5 separate regions of the Homo sapiens genome follow, and regions 2, 3, 4 and 5 are each linked to region 1. The links are contacts of gene promoters, found by promoter capture Hi-C in human tissues and cell types (Jung and others, 2019). All regions are on one chromosome and are shown on one strand. The core of a region is centred on a gene start or on the middle of the fragment in contact, and the rest is flanking DNA. Distances in the headings are between cores, read along the strand shown.

The links. The method cuts DNA at HindIII sites, captures the fragments that hold promoters and counts their contacts. A contact is called where the count stands out against the background at its distance.
Region 2: a fragment that was not itself captured here is called in contact with the fragment with the promoter of ETV1 in region 1 in 1 of the 25 tissues and cell types used here (hippocampus).
Region 3: a fragment that was not itself captured here is called in contact with the fragment with the promoter of ETV1 in region 1 in 1 of the 25 tissues and cell types used here (mesenchymal stem cells).
Region 4: a fragment that was not itself captured here is called in contact with the fragment with the promoter of ETV1 in region 1 in 2 of the 25 tissues and cell types used here (H1 embryonic stem cells and lymphoblastoid cells).
Region 5: a contact is called between a fragment that was not itself captured here and the fragment with the promoter of ETV1 in region 1, in 2 of the 25 tissues and cell types used here (dorsolateral prefrontal cortex and hippocampus).

The regions. Positions count from the first base shown.
Region 1 is chr7:13,988,364-13,990,933 of GRCh38, reverse strand. It overlaps ETV1 (ETS variant transcription factor 1), which reads left to right and starts at 1,268. Exons shown (of 14, transcript NM_004956.5): 1 at 1,268-1,371; 2 at 1,470-1,666; 3 at 1,795-1,926. The coding sequence starts at 1,882. The HindIII fragment of the contact is 5,948 bases long and covers 1-2,570 here.
Region 2 is chr7:14,340,205-14,342,774 of GRCh38, reverse strand. All of the region lies in intron 22 of DGKB (diacylglycerol kinase beta), which reads left to right. Among named protein-coding and RNA genes, the nearest start is that of ETV1, 350 kb to the right of the region's middle. RefSeq lists an enhancer at 1,660-2,570. The HindIII fragment of the contact is 4,367 bases long and covers 1-2,570 here.
Region 3 is chr7:14,319,166-14,321,735 of GRCh38, reverse strand. The region is part of intron 23 of DGKB (diacylglycerol kinase beta); the gene reads left to right. Among named protein-coding and RNA genes, the nearest start is that of ETV1, 330 kb to the right of the region's middle. The HindIII fragment of the contact is 3,875 bases long and covers 1-2,570 here.
Region 4 is chr7:14,301,170-14,303,739 of GRCh38, reverse strand. The region is part of intron 23 of DGKB (diacylglycerol kinase beta); the gene reads left to right. Among named protein-coding and RNA genes, the nearest start is that of ETV1, 310 kb to the right of the region's middle. The HindIII fragment of the contact is 4,003 bases long and covers 1-2,570 here.
Region 5 is chr7:14,273,587-14,276,156 of GRCh38, reverse strand. The region is part of intron 23 of DGKB (diacylglycerol kinase beta); the gene reads left to right. Among named protein-coding and RNA genes, the nearest start is that of ETV1, 290 kb to the right of the region's middle. The HindIII fragment of the contact is 7,161 bases long and covers 1-2,570 here.

The DNA.
Region 1 (2,570 bases), core at 19-2,518:
AATGTGTCTCCATAACGTTCTATTTAAGGAAGGAAACTTTCAAATAGAAATTGAGAACTGCAGCACGTTTCCTAACGGGCGGAACAGCTGCCGGAAACGTCTTTTGGTCACTAGTTCTGGTCACAAATGAATTTCAACAGCATTGAGTCCCTGGTCCTATCCCCGCGGCCTCCCGTCCGCTGTTGGACACTGGCTCCTTAAAGTGACGCTTTACTGTTCTGAGTCCCATAGGAGGATCAGGGCAAGTGGCTTCAGAGATGCAGCCCTCACTGCTTAACGTCCTAGTTATTGTCCTTGAAACCCGAGCCATCTCACCGCTCGCCCCCAACCCTGGGCTCTGGCTGTTTAAAAGCTGGAGAGGAAGTGAAAGCGTCAAGTACAGTAAGTGACACCCTCCGCCTCCGTGTATACATAACAAAAGCTCAGGAAACGTGCGGGTTCTAGGATATACGAGCAACCCCAAGCACTCCCTCCTCCTCCCCACAGCCACAGTGGACTGGAAGTACCTTTTCCCAGTGCACACGTAGGGACCATTTTGACTTATACTTTTTCACCTAGCTTGCTCTGTTGTCCTCCCATCACAACCTCTGCTAATCAGCAATTCTGCATCTCCTAGGTGCCTTCCTTATAGATTCTTTATGTTTCTGTCCCACGAACGATAGGATCTAATTTTAGTTGAGGATGACTGTTTAAAAAATGTTTCGATAAACCATAATGGTGATGGTGGGTTTTGAAAAACGGGAAAATAAATTGGGCCAAAAGCTGAGTGGGAATGAGGATAGAGAGCGAGGTGAGCTCCTAGTCAGGGCAAGAGTAGAGAGGTTGGAGATCCTGAGGGGAGGGCAGCTGAATAAGGCGGTACGGGCTTTGTGGATCGCGGCTCTAAGGGTATACCAGAACCGCACAACAGTACTTTAAGGAAACCAGCCCAATAGTGGACCTAACACCCCAATAATGGGAACTGGCGACTCGAAACACACGGTTTCAGTATCCCCAGGCGCCTTAACAATAAGCAGCGGGTTACAGAGGAAATCGAGTCTCTCCGTGGCGCTTCCAGGCTGAGGACCCAGCGCCTACCGGCCGAGCACCCCCTAGGGCAGAGGGGCGAGGGAGACCCGCGGGAAGGGGCAGCAAGCCGCCTGATTGACAGCCCGAAATCTGATCTTGTGAAAGAGACGCGGAGCCAATGGGAGGCAGCGATCCATCAGTTTGGATTGGAGGCCCCTGGAGGAGAAGTAGAGGAAAAACCACCGAATTGAGCTCTGTCAGAGGCGCTTTCGGCTTCCAAGGGGGAAGTGCTGGGCTATAATTAATGTTTTTATTAAATTTGGAGGGAAGTTTTTGCAGCCTTTCGCCTAGCGTGGCCTTCAGGTGGGTCTTTCCAACAACTTTTTATGTCTCTCCAGATAATTGCATGGTTGTGGGTCGCAAAAACTATCCTGATGAAAGAGGTGTCTCCGTCTCTTTAGTCCCGTTAGGTGCAAAGCAAGTCTCGTTGATCGCCATTGCTAGTTTTGCACACGTTTGCGAATCAGAGCTGCCCGGGGTACACCGACCGCGCAGGGAAACATCGAGAGTGTAAATAAATACATCGCCTCTTGTTCGGATTTTTGCTACTACCGAAAATATGTAAATTGTGAACTCTGTTGGCTCTCTTTGGATCCAGGTGAAGGAGGCGGTGTAGGGAGGGTTATTTTTGTGAATGGGACTGTCGGAGGGTAATTAGCTATGCAAATTCAAGAGCTTCATTCATGATTTTTTTTTAAGCCTAAAAGCCATCTTGTTCCCCTCTAGGTTGATAGAAGTCCAGATCCTGAGGAAATCTCCAGCTAAATGCTCAAAATATAAAATACTGAGCTGAGATTTGCGAAGAGCAGCAGCATGGATGGATTTTATGACCAGCAAGTGCCTTACATGGTCACCAATGTGAGTGATCAGTTTGAAAGTTGCTGTTTATAAACTTGACTCCGTCGGGGGTGGGGAGAGGGAGAAAATGAGAAGGGAGGGGGCACGGGGGTTGGGATTGCAGATACTTATCTGCTTTGTTGCCACTGTAGGGCGACTCTGCTTCTAGAAGCCCAGTCTTCAAAATGAGCTTACCTTTCAGTGATTTGGATAAGGCATAGTTTTGTTTTTAAGACCCCTTTTTCTGATTAAAGTGCCCAACATGAGTGGAAGAGGAGATGGAGGGCAGCAGCAGCTGCTGCACTCAAAGTTTTTGGCTGGGTTTGTCTGCCACATTGAAAAGAATGAAGTTGAGACAAATGCTGACACTTTTTGTTTATATGGGGTGTTTTTGTTTCTTTTTTTTTTCTCATTTTCTCTTTTTTTTTTTTTTCATTTCTCTACTCTTTTTGCTTTTTTTTTTTGTGGGGGTGGGGTGGGGAGGAGGGGCTGTCCAAGAGAGAATAAAACCCACTGTTTTAATCTAGCATTGAACCAGCCTAAAAACAACTTTAAGTGTAAATGCTTCAGGTTGTTTTGATGCTGAGATACCATGAATATATGATTGATAAATAGTAATGTGCTAAGATCGGCACTGGGAAGCAACTCTCCCTGCCTGCTTAACA
Region 2 (2,570 bases), core at 52-2,551, 350 kb before region 1:
ATTTACCTATTATTAACTGTCTCACAGGTGATGCTAAACAATGCACATATATTATTTGATTTAGTCTTTATCAAAACCTTATGATACTGTTATATCTCCATTGCAGAGATAAACATTTTCTTCAGTAATTTAAGAGAAATAAGAATTATGTTGCTGCCACAATGTTTAAATCTAATGAGCAAATTGATTGAAAAATATATGTATTTACACATACATGTAAAGATTTAATGATACACGAAGTAGAATTTTTTAAAGATATTCATTTATCTTCTAACTTTATTACAAAAGATAAAAATAAATTCTTTAAAATTACAAGAAAATATTTTAAAACCAATGTTTATATTAAAGTATTTGGAGGGGTGAAATGTGTGCCTAAGAAACTCAGGTCAGCATTTGGAATTGAAGATACAGAGTTCATGAATGTTCAGTTTGCTCAGAGTACCAGGCAAAGTTAATGAGAGAATAAGAAAGCCTATTCTATAGATATTTCAGTCTTTTGGTTGACAGGGATACTGGGAAAGATGGTAAATTTTAAAGCCAAGAATTTCCATCCCAAAGTACTGATTTATTGTAATGATTAAATACCCCTAGAAACCTAAATGATCTCAAGAATTAATGAATGGCATGACTAGCATCAAAAACACAAAATAAATTAGCAGGATTCAAAAGACAATATTCTTATTGCTCAGTAACCTGGAAAACAGAGTTCTTAGAGGCAATAGCCAGAGTTCCCAAGCATAGTCTCTGCCCCATGTGTCCTAATACTGAAATTACCTATAAAGTAATGTTTTACGTTTCATTGAGTAAAAATAGAAATAATTCTTATCTGATATAGACATAGAATCAGACCTACTATGGAAAAAAATTACAGTTTATCATTAATTGTATCTCATCACATTTACCATCCACACTTAGAGCTCTCCAAAGTTCTTCACATGTTTTGAATAGTCCTATCAACTGACATGTTAAGTGGATCTGAAACACTAAAGTCACATATAAAGCTTGTTTTTAACACCTCTGTACGGTGTGACCCAGGACTCATTTATTTATGAAGGTTAAAACACATTGGCAGAAAAATTGAAACCGTCTTCTTTTCTTTTAATTATATTTGTCTCTGGAATAAGATCCTCTATTTTAAAACTGAAAAGAGCAGACAATGGCATCACAGCCTTGCACTCTATAAATAGCTCCCATAGTACTATATGTTAACGACCTTTTTTCTACCTAATAAAAATATTCAGGATTTATTGACTAACTGAGGCTGTTAGCTTTTAAGCTTTTATATTCTTTTCCTCTGTAGCTACCTTTTTAAAAGTCATAAATCTCAAAGGGAATGAAAATATTATCTGACACAGTACTATAACTTGTTTATATTTCATAGCCTTCACCTCAGCTTTTACTTTCATGCACTCAACTGGTGTGCTACAATTACTGGTCTCCATCAGAACCAGCACTGAAATTTTCCAGACTAATGAACATAACGTTAAAGCAAACAGAGGAAGGTAGCCTAGGGTCAAGAACAAGTGGAAACAAATCATTAATAAATAGCAATTTATTTAAGTACATTGTCCTGCTCTCAAAGGAACATCAATGTTCTTCATCAGTCCTTGTTCTTTGCGACTGTTTGAGAATTTTTTTTCACTTCTCAGAGAGCTACTTACTCTGTTTCCCTAAAACTACACATGACAAAACTCTGAAGAGTGAAAACATGAATAATAGCATACACTCATGTTTTTCAATTGTCACATGTAACTCAGCTGGTTCAATTCTTTTTTTTAAAAAAAAAAGAAGCCTCTTTGCAACATGCTCTCCTTTTCTGCAGATGAACAAAGGAATCCTCCTTCACTAATTCTGAAAGTAACTTGTCACAGTGGGGTTCTAAGGCCTAGTCAAATAATTGTCTTAGTGTACTACCTGCTGTGTTCAATATTGAGTGAAAATGGAAGCCAGGCCCTGACTCCAGCTTATTTCATGATTCTTCTGTTATTTAAATGATTTTAGTCAGTTTGGGGGAAGCCAGACCTTTATAAATTAACAGCAGGGAAATACCAAAGGTGTCAGATTGCATATTTATCATCTTTTTCGTGTAATACTTAAATATGTATTAAGAAGTGACTGACATAAATTAGGCAGATTTCAGAAGCCACAGGCCGTGGCTTGTAGAGGACCCCCTTCTGCTTGACATTTCATCCTTGTCAAAGATCAAATTATTTTAATTTAGGCTGCAAATTATAAGGAATGAAGACTTCTTTGTGGGAATTCCCTGTGGTAATCTGACTTTTGTTGTTACTGCTGCTTGTCAGTGTGCAAAAGATATAATATGCATGCAAATAAGGTTAAAAAATATGTACTATCTAATTATCCAGCCAGTACATTCCACTTGAAGACAGTGGGAGGCCTGACACACAGTATGTGTTTGATTCATTGAGGCCTGCAGGGTATTTACACAAGATTACTTTTAATTATGAAATTAATATCTGTTTATCTAGAATATATAGCGGTAAGTGAGTATACACATGACCAGAATTCTTTAGTAAAAAGAAATCATCTTAATTTAGTACCAGAAAAGG
Region 3 (2,570 bases), core at 34-2,533, 330 kb before region 1:
AAAATCACTTATCAATTCTAATACTGTATCTATAGACTGTTGGACTTTAAATAAATATCATGCCATCAATAAATGATGATGGTTCATTCCTTCTTTTTTTACCCTTAATCCTTTTCTTTTTTTTTTTTTTTTCTTATTTCTCTGTTTAAAGTCTCCAGTGCAAGGCTGAATACATGGGGTGAAAATGGACGTTGGTGTCTTGTTCTTGATATTGGAGGCTGTGGGGGAGATTTCAATAGTTCACCATTTCTCTAATGTTCCTTGTATACTTTTATGGATACACCTTTTCAGGTTAAAGATTTCTTCTTTATTTCAAATTTACTATGTTTTGTTATAAATACATGTTGATTTTTATAAAATTATTGTTTTTCATCTATTGAGAGAATCATACTTTTTATTCTTTATCCTGTGAATGTGGAGAATTACATTGCTTAATTTTTTTTCTGAGACAGGGTATCACTCTGTTGCCCAGGCTGAAGTGCAGTGATGTGATACTGGCTTACTGCAGCCTCTGCCTCCTGGGCTCAAGAGATTCTCCCACCTCAGCTTCCCAAGCGGCTGGGACCACTGGCATGTGCCATCATGTCTGGCTAAGTTTTGTATTTTTTGTAGGGACAGGGATTTGCCATGTTTTCCAGAATGGTCTCAAACTCCTGGGCTCAAGTCATCCGCCCGCCTCATCCTCCCAAAGTGCTGTGATTACTGGCATGAGCCACCTTTCCTGGCTGCTGAATTTTTAAATTTTAAAGCAACCGTGTATTCCTTAAATAAATCTAACTTGGAATGTTGTATTATCTTGTTATACAACACTGGATTTTATTTATTAATATTACATTTAAAATTTTGCATCTATGTTCATGAGAATGGTCATGAATTATTTTTCCTATCATGTCATCATTAGGTTTATTTAATAAGGTTATGCAAACAGAAAGGGCAAAGTTGGTAGGCAGTATGACCTGCACTTGTGAGTATGGCTCTAACTACTTTATCTAATAACAGAGGCTTATAGCTTTGTGTCAGATGCAGACCATAAAATGATTCTATTATAGGTCAATCTGAAATGCAAGCAGCCCTGTAACTTAAGTTATAGGACAGACCCTACAGGACTATATATATATATGTACCACATATATGTACTATATATATGTACTATATATGTACACATATATATATGTACTATATAGTACATATATGTACCGCATATGCGGTACATATATATATGTGGAAAAGATGCTTTGTGGAGTTGATGACACACTTCAATAAGAGAATCACAATGTAGTCTAAGGCTGTGGAGCAAGGCTATGGCATTGGCAGCAGAAAACTATATGTCAACTGAGAACAAGCTCTGGACGTGCTACTTGGACTCTATAAATATGGATCATCTGACCATAGCAAGTGACCATAATGAAATCACAGGGCCCACCATATGCTGAGTTTTGTTAGACCAACCAAGTCATAAGCTCAGAATTCATTGTAAGATAGAAGTAGATAGAACACCTGGATCAGACATGTAGGGCCAGAGAGCGAGGAAAGCTGCATGAGTGTCTGTTGTTCCCACCACTGCTGGACCCCCGCCTCCCCCTCAGCTCCCACCTATGACTCTTAGGACCAAATGTCAGAGAAGGAAAAGCTTTAATGAGAGTTCTTGAATAGTTTATCTTGCTTTGTTAGTGTGCTTCTAAAAAAGGGCTGCTATTCCAGCAGTGCTGCTTTTGGGGTAGTGGAAAGGAGAAATTCCCAATGAGCAGAGCTCTGGGAGCCTGCCCAGTTATCCTTTGTATAGAGAGTAGCCCAAGGTGAGAATACAAATGGACCTGTAGATCTTAACAAAGTGTTCCAAAGAAGATGCTTGTGGATGAACTTATAGGAATGGGGACAAGGTACCAACATTGCACTTTTTCTTAGTGCTGTAAGTATAAAATACAATACTTTATCTTTTATTTTGGAGAACATGTCCTGACATACTATAGACCACTGGATGCATAATACAAAGATGAATTGACTCTTTAGAGGATTTATCTTTCACACCCTGGCAAGTCATTATCTTATAAGATCTACAGCCTACATATCATTTATTGCTCATCTAGCCCAATTAGCCAAAGAGTACACTGGTTCTCAAACTTTTAGTCTCAGGATCCCTTCATACTCTTAAAAATTATTGAAAATCCTAAAGAACTTTTGCTTATGTGAGGTACATCTATTGTTACCATATAAAACATTAAGGCTGAGAAATTATTAAAATATGTATTCATTTAAAAGTCTTAATAAACCTATTACATGTTACTATAAATATATTTTTAAATAACTATATTTAAAAAACAAAAATTTAGTAAGAAGAGTGGCACTGTATTGCTTTTTATAAATCTCTGTAATGTCTGGTCTAATAGAAGACAGCTGGATTCTCATATCTGCTTCTACATTCCATTTATTGCAATATTTTTTTTTATTATTATACTTTAAGTTTTAGGGTACATGTGCACATTGTGCAGGTTAGTTACATACGTATACATGTGCCACGCTGGTGTGCTGCACCCACTAACTCGTCATCTAGCATTAGGTATATCTCCTAA
Region 4 (2,570 bases), core at 46-2,545, 310 kb before region 1:
ATGTTGCAGCACAGGTGGCAGGGACCTTTGGAATTTCTATCCCTGTTCTGGCTGATTTACTTTGATGCCTGTAAGGTGATAGAGAGTACTGCCATGATTCATTAGATGCATTTGAACTTCAAAGAAAGCACAGTGCAACTAGATCAAGACTAGGTTTGGTCTGAGCAAAGAAACACCAAAGAGTAAAGAAAAAAATTAAATGGGAAAATAAATTAGTATTCAGATAATAAATATGGCAGGTAAGTTATTTAATTTTAATGAAATGGAAAGAGATACAGTATCAAAAGGACCAATAATAACAAAAACATAGTTTATTAATTTAAGGCTAAATATTGATTTTTTACTCTGGAAAGGTGAATATGGCTTTAGGTGAAACATTCTTTCTTAAAAACTAACTACGGCGGGAAATACAGTCATACACATCCAAGTAAAGTTTCTAAAATGGCATATGTAATTCCTCAAGTAAAAATGAAACGCAATAACTTTAGCATTACAAATAACTTGTATCATTACGAAAACTTTGTCATTACCACCTGAACTAAAACATTTACTTTCCTTTGTGTATAATGTCCCTGAAAGAAATACTTCACTTAGGTGTTGCCATAAAAAGACGTCATTTTGAAAACTGGCACTGGACACATATGAAAATTTGTCTAAGATAATTCTACATATCTGGGCTAAATAAATATTTGTTTTGCTTAGCAGCATAGCTAGGATAACCAAATTATATGATGAGATCCTAAGCTTCTCCTACCACCCATGGTATAATAGACTAATTTTTAGGAATTGCACAAAGTCTTTTCTCAAAATAATTTTCGTTGGCCTATGATTCATTTAGTGCTGAGAATAAAAACCAAAAGTATACCTCCCATCATAGATCTTACATTACAGCAAATATTTTACCTTGGATAAAAGATATATTAATTACAAATCAAATGTCATCATCTGCTTTCCAATATGAAGGAAATAAACAAGGCGATATGGAGCATTTGTTGGGTTTTCAGTTGTCAATTTAGAATGACTGGTCAAGAAATACGTCTCTAAGAAGGCTACAATTAATAGGGGGCTGAAGGATTGGGAAACAATTATGGATCAAGTCAATAAAAGTGTATTGCAGGAAGAGAAGAAAGTTCAAGTCCAAAGACTAAAATGGGCAAGATTTTTGTCCTTTTGAACAAGAGCAAGGAATTCCATGTACCTAGAGTAAAACGAGCAATGGGGCCGGGGGCAGGCTGTTTCCAGATGAGAACAGGGAGGTAGACAATCACAGGTAACTGGAATATTTTCAATACAGAGTAATATGATCTAACTTACAATTTAACATTCTTAGTATAAATACAGCACACAGGTACACAAATTTCAAAATAAAATATACACTTGCTGATTTATCACAAAGTGATCATATGTGTACACATCACTCCAAAATAGAGGAAGATTGGCAGTAACACAGAAGATTTTCTTATGTTCTCTCTCCTCTGTACACCAGAGGAACCATTATCTTGCCTTTTATTATAAATACTTTCTTGATTTTTCATATGACCTTAACACCTAAGAATACATTCCTAAACATTATATATTGTGTGTTGAAATAAATAAAATAACTTAGTATCTATTCTTTTGTGTCTAGGTACATTTATTCCATGCTATGTTTGTGGAATTTGCTTTTTGTTGGCTTTGGCTTTGGTTTGTTCATCGTCCTTGCTCTGTAGGATTACAGAGATGGAGAGAATCAAAGCAAAGCTGTGGTCCTTGTGAGAGTGCCTGATTCTGATTTTCTTTTATTGCTAAAGCACTGCCATTTGGGGTCCCAACCCAAGACCAGGGACATTTGCCAAGCCCCATACTTTGGTAGACCCTGGACTCAGTCCCATGAGTCTGACAAAAGCACTGTACACTTGATCAACCAACCCTCCTGAAATGAGTGAAAACCCATAAGGCAAGAGTAGCCCACCTCTCCAGATCTCCATCTTTAGCCAGATGGTAACACCATTTTTTTACTCTCTTATTAGTCTTCTAAGCCTTCAAATGTGTGTGTATGTGTGTGTGTGTACACACCTATTCATGTATATATACACAAAGATGCATCTGGAGATGTATATGTATACAGCAGCACAAGTTGTCCACATTGGTAGGATTGGCCCAAATTACCAAGTTCTTATTACAATAAGTAACATTCCCTAATCTATCTTTTTAAAAGATTACTGACTGCTCTTATGAGGATTAATTTAAACAGTAAGATTTGAAGATGGAATGCAAATTAGATCAGTATTGCTGTTGTCTCTGCAGTACATGAAGATGTCTTGACTGGGTATGGTATTTGTGAAAATAGAATGGTTTTTCTTCTAAGTAGAAATCTCATGACTTGCCAATTGTTAGGGTGTGTAGGATATAGAAAATAGAAAAGATAGAGACACCAATGCCCAAGAAAAGTTGCACTGTGGATCAACTATTCTATCCCACTGTTACTATGTAGCCTAGTCAAATGAGATTTTCTTCTTTGGTGTTATTGTTTAACATTTTAATTTAAAAATATATCCCAAGATTTTAGGCTTTGGAAATATATTTATAAG
Region 5 (2,570 bases), core at 50-2,549, 290 kb before region 1:
CAGAGCAGATTACATGGAACTGTGCTAAGTTGAGAATAAAGCTTCAGTGATTTGCCTCATAGTGATATGAACTTTGTACCATCTAATTTTTGAATATTAAAAGCCCCCAAATATTCCCTGTATACGAATAGGTCTATCACTATAGTATGTGAGGCTAGCAACTAAAAGCAAGAAGAGGATTTCAGAAATCTGTCTTTATGTTAGTAAAGAGTAATTTCTTTACTCTATGAATTAGATAAGAATTAATTAAACGCTCACCTACTGTACAAAGTCAGGACTAAATGACAGCTTATTCTGTTATTTAAAATTTGCATTGTGCCAAAATTTGGCCTCATCATCATATCATGGCAATTATGAATTAGTTTTAGAGATGTTTCCAAACTTGGAATTCTTCTAATCTGTTACTGGTGGGACATCACTGACATTATGTAATTGTTAAACCTACCACTATTAAGAATTGCTAGTTGATTTGTTTAAAGACAGTATTTGTTTCAGCTGTTGCTTGTCTTCTGTCAAATATCTGAGGCAGAGGAAGCATGGCCTTTCTAGCGAGCAGAGACCCTATGTGAATTGGCGCTATTAAAAGTTCCACACATGACCACTATTTGACTCATTCCCACATGTTGCAATTAAGTGCTTGTTAAATGTTGCTTTCCTCTGTCTGCATGAAAAGCTATTAGAAGGAAAAAAAATGTGGAAAGATTTAAATGTAAGCCTGGATTAGTTGAAGAAGTAGGCTCATGTCAAATTGTGACCAAGGACTTTGTGTTTCATTCTTGGTGAAAAGAATGCTCATAATCCAATATTATTTCAAGAAATATTCATACAAAAACTTTTTATTGTGTGTCAACCCTATACCAGGGCCTGTATTAGGAGTTGGGACTATAAAGATGTATGAAATATGGTAACTGCCTTAAGATGAGAAGATATGCACATTTAAAAACAAAACAATACAAAGCAAAACAAATCTATAATGTCATGAGAATAAACATAGAACTTAAGTATATTCAAGGCAATGGTAACATAAAAACTGTGAATTATTTCTGCCCAGAGGTGACAGAGAGATGCTTCAGAGAAAGTGATGTTTAATCTGTATTTTAAAGAAGGAAAATACTTTCATCTAGGACAACAGAGAAGGCCATTTCAAACAGAAGAAATCACATTTATAACACGCACACACAAACACACACACACACACACACACACACACACACTGCTATGGACTGAAGTGCACCCCCCAAAAAATGCATATTTGACCTTCTAATCCTCAATGTGATAGGATTTAGAGGTGAGGCCTTTTAGAGGTAATGAAGTGTAGATGAGGTAATGAAGGTGGAGCCTCTATGACGGGATTAGTGCCTTTATAAGAAAAAAAAAGCAGACCAGAGCCCTCTCCCTCTTTCTGCCATTTGAGAACACAACAAGAAGAAAGTGTACGCAAACCAACAAGAGAGCCCTCACCAGATACCAAATACCAGATACCAAATTCACTGTCACCTTGATCTTGGACTTCCCAGCCTTCTAAACTGTAAGAGATGAATATTTTATTGTTATGTCATTCAGTCTATGACATTTTTTAATAGCAGCACAAACTAAGACACACATAAAGTTAGAAACAATACAGAGTGAGAAACTATAAGTCTGATGTTAATGCGGAAAGGTATCAAGTGATAAAGATAATATAAAAGCAAGCAGGGAGGGCCTTTTATGCCATGCCAACAATTTTGAGTTTGGGGTAACTAGGATTCATTGAAGAGTTTAGTAGAAAGTGACTTGAGGAGGTCTGCATTTTAGTAAGAAAACTCCAGCCAGGTGGATTAAGGTAGGATTAGTCGTTGCCGAGAGAAAAAATAAAATAAAATTTGGAGGCTGTTTCCAAACACTGAAACTATCACTGCGTATCACCTTCAAGGAATCTCCTGAGTACAGTGCCAAGAGCAGAGGAACATGTGGATCATGGGGCTGTCACATTCTTTTGAGGAGCTATTCAGGAGCTAACAGCCATTCATTGACCAAACTGGCAATCACCTGCTACTGTAAATCCTGGAACCGTCTTGCAGTTGAGCAAAGCAACTTATGAACTCCTATTAGCCAAAGCCCCTCAAGTGTATCAAAAAGGGACATTTGTCATGAGGTCTAGAATAATCTCCCACAAAACAATGAAATACAAATATGTTTCTAATAATTTAAAATCCTCAAAAGAGTAATTCCTGAAGTAAAGTTTGTAAATAAACTTAGGTATTGTCATCTTGATTATCTGTTAGTACAATGAGAAATTACTGATATTCAGACATCTTTTTTGCACACATATATACATACTCACCTCAATATGAACTAAATTTTAAAAAAGTAAATTACACAAAGAATGAACTTAAAGCTACTTACTAGTAACAACTGAGTGGTATCATGTCTGTATAGTTTTAGAAGACACCTTTTCAAAAGAAAAATGAGCTTAGCCAGTGGAGATACAGCCAGTATTTGTATGTAGAGTTGTCATTCAGTTAAAATCTATTTTCTGAACCTTATCACGTGAAAATTTACCATTCAACTAATATCCCAAATTATTCTCA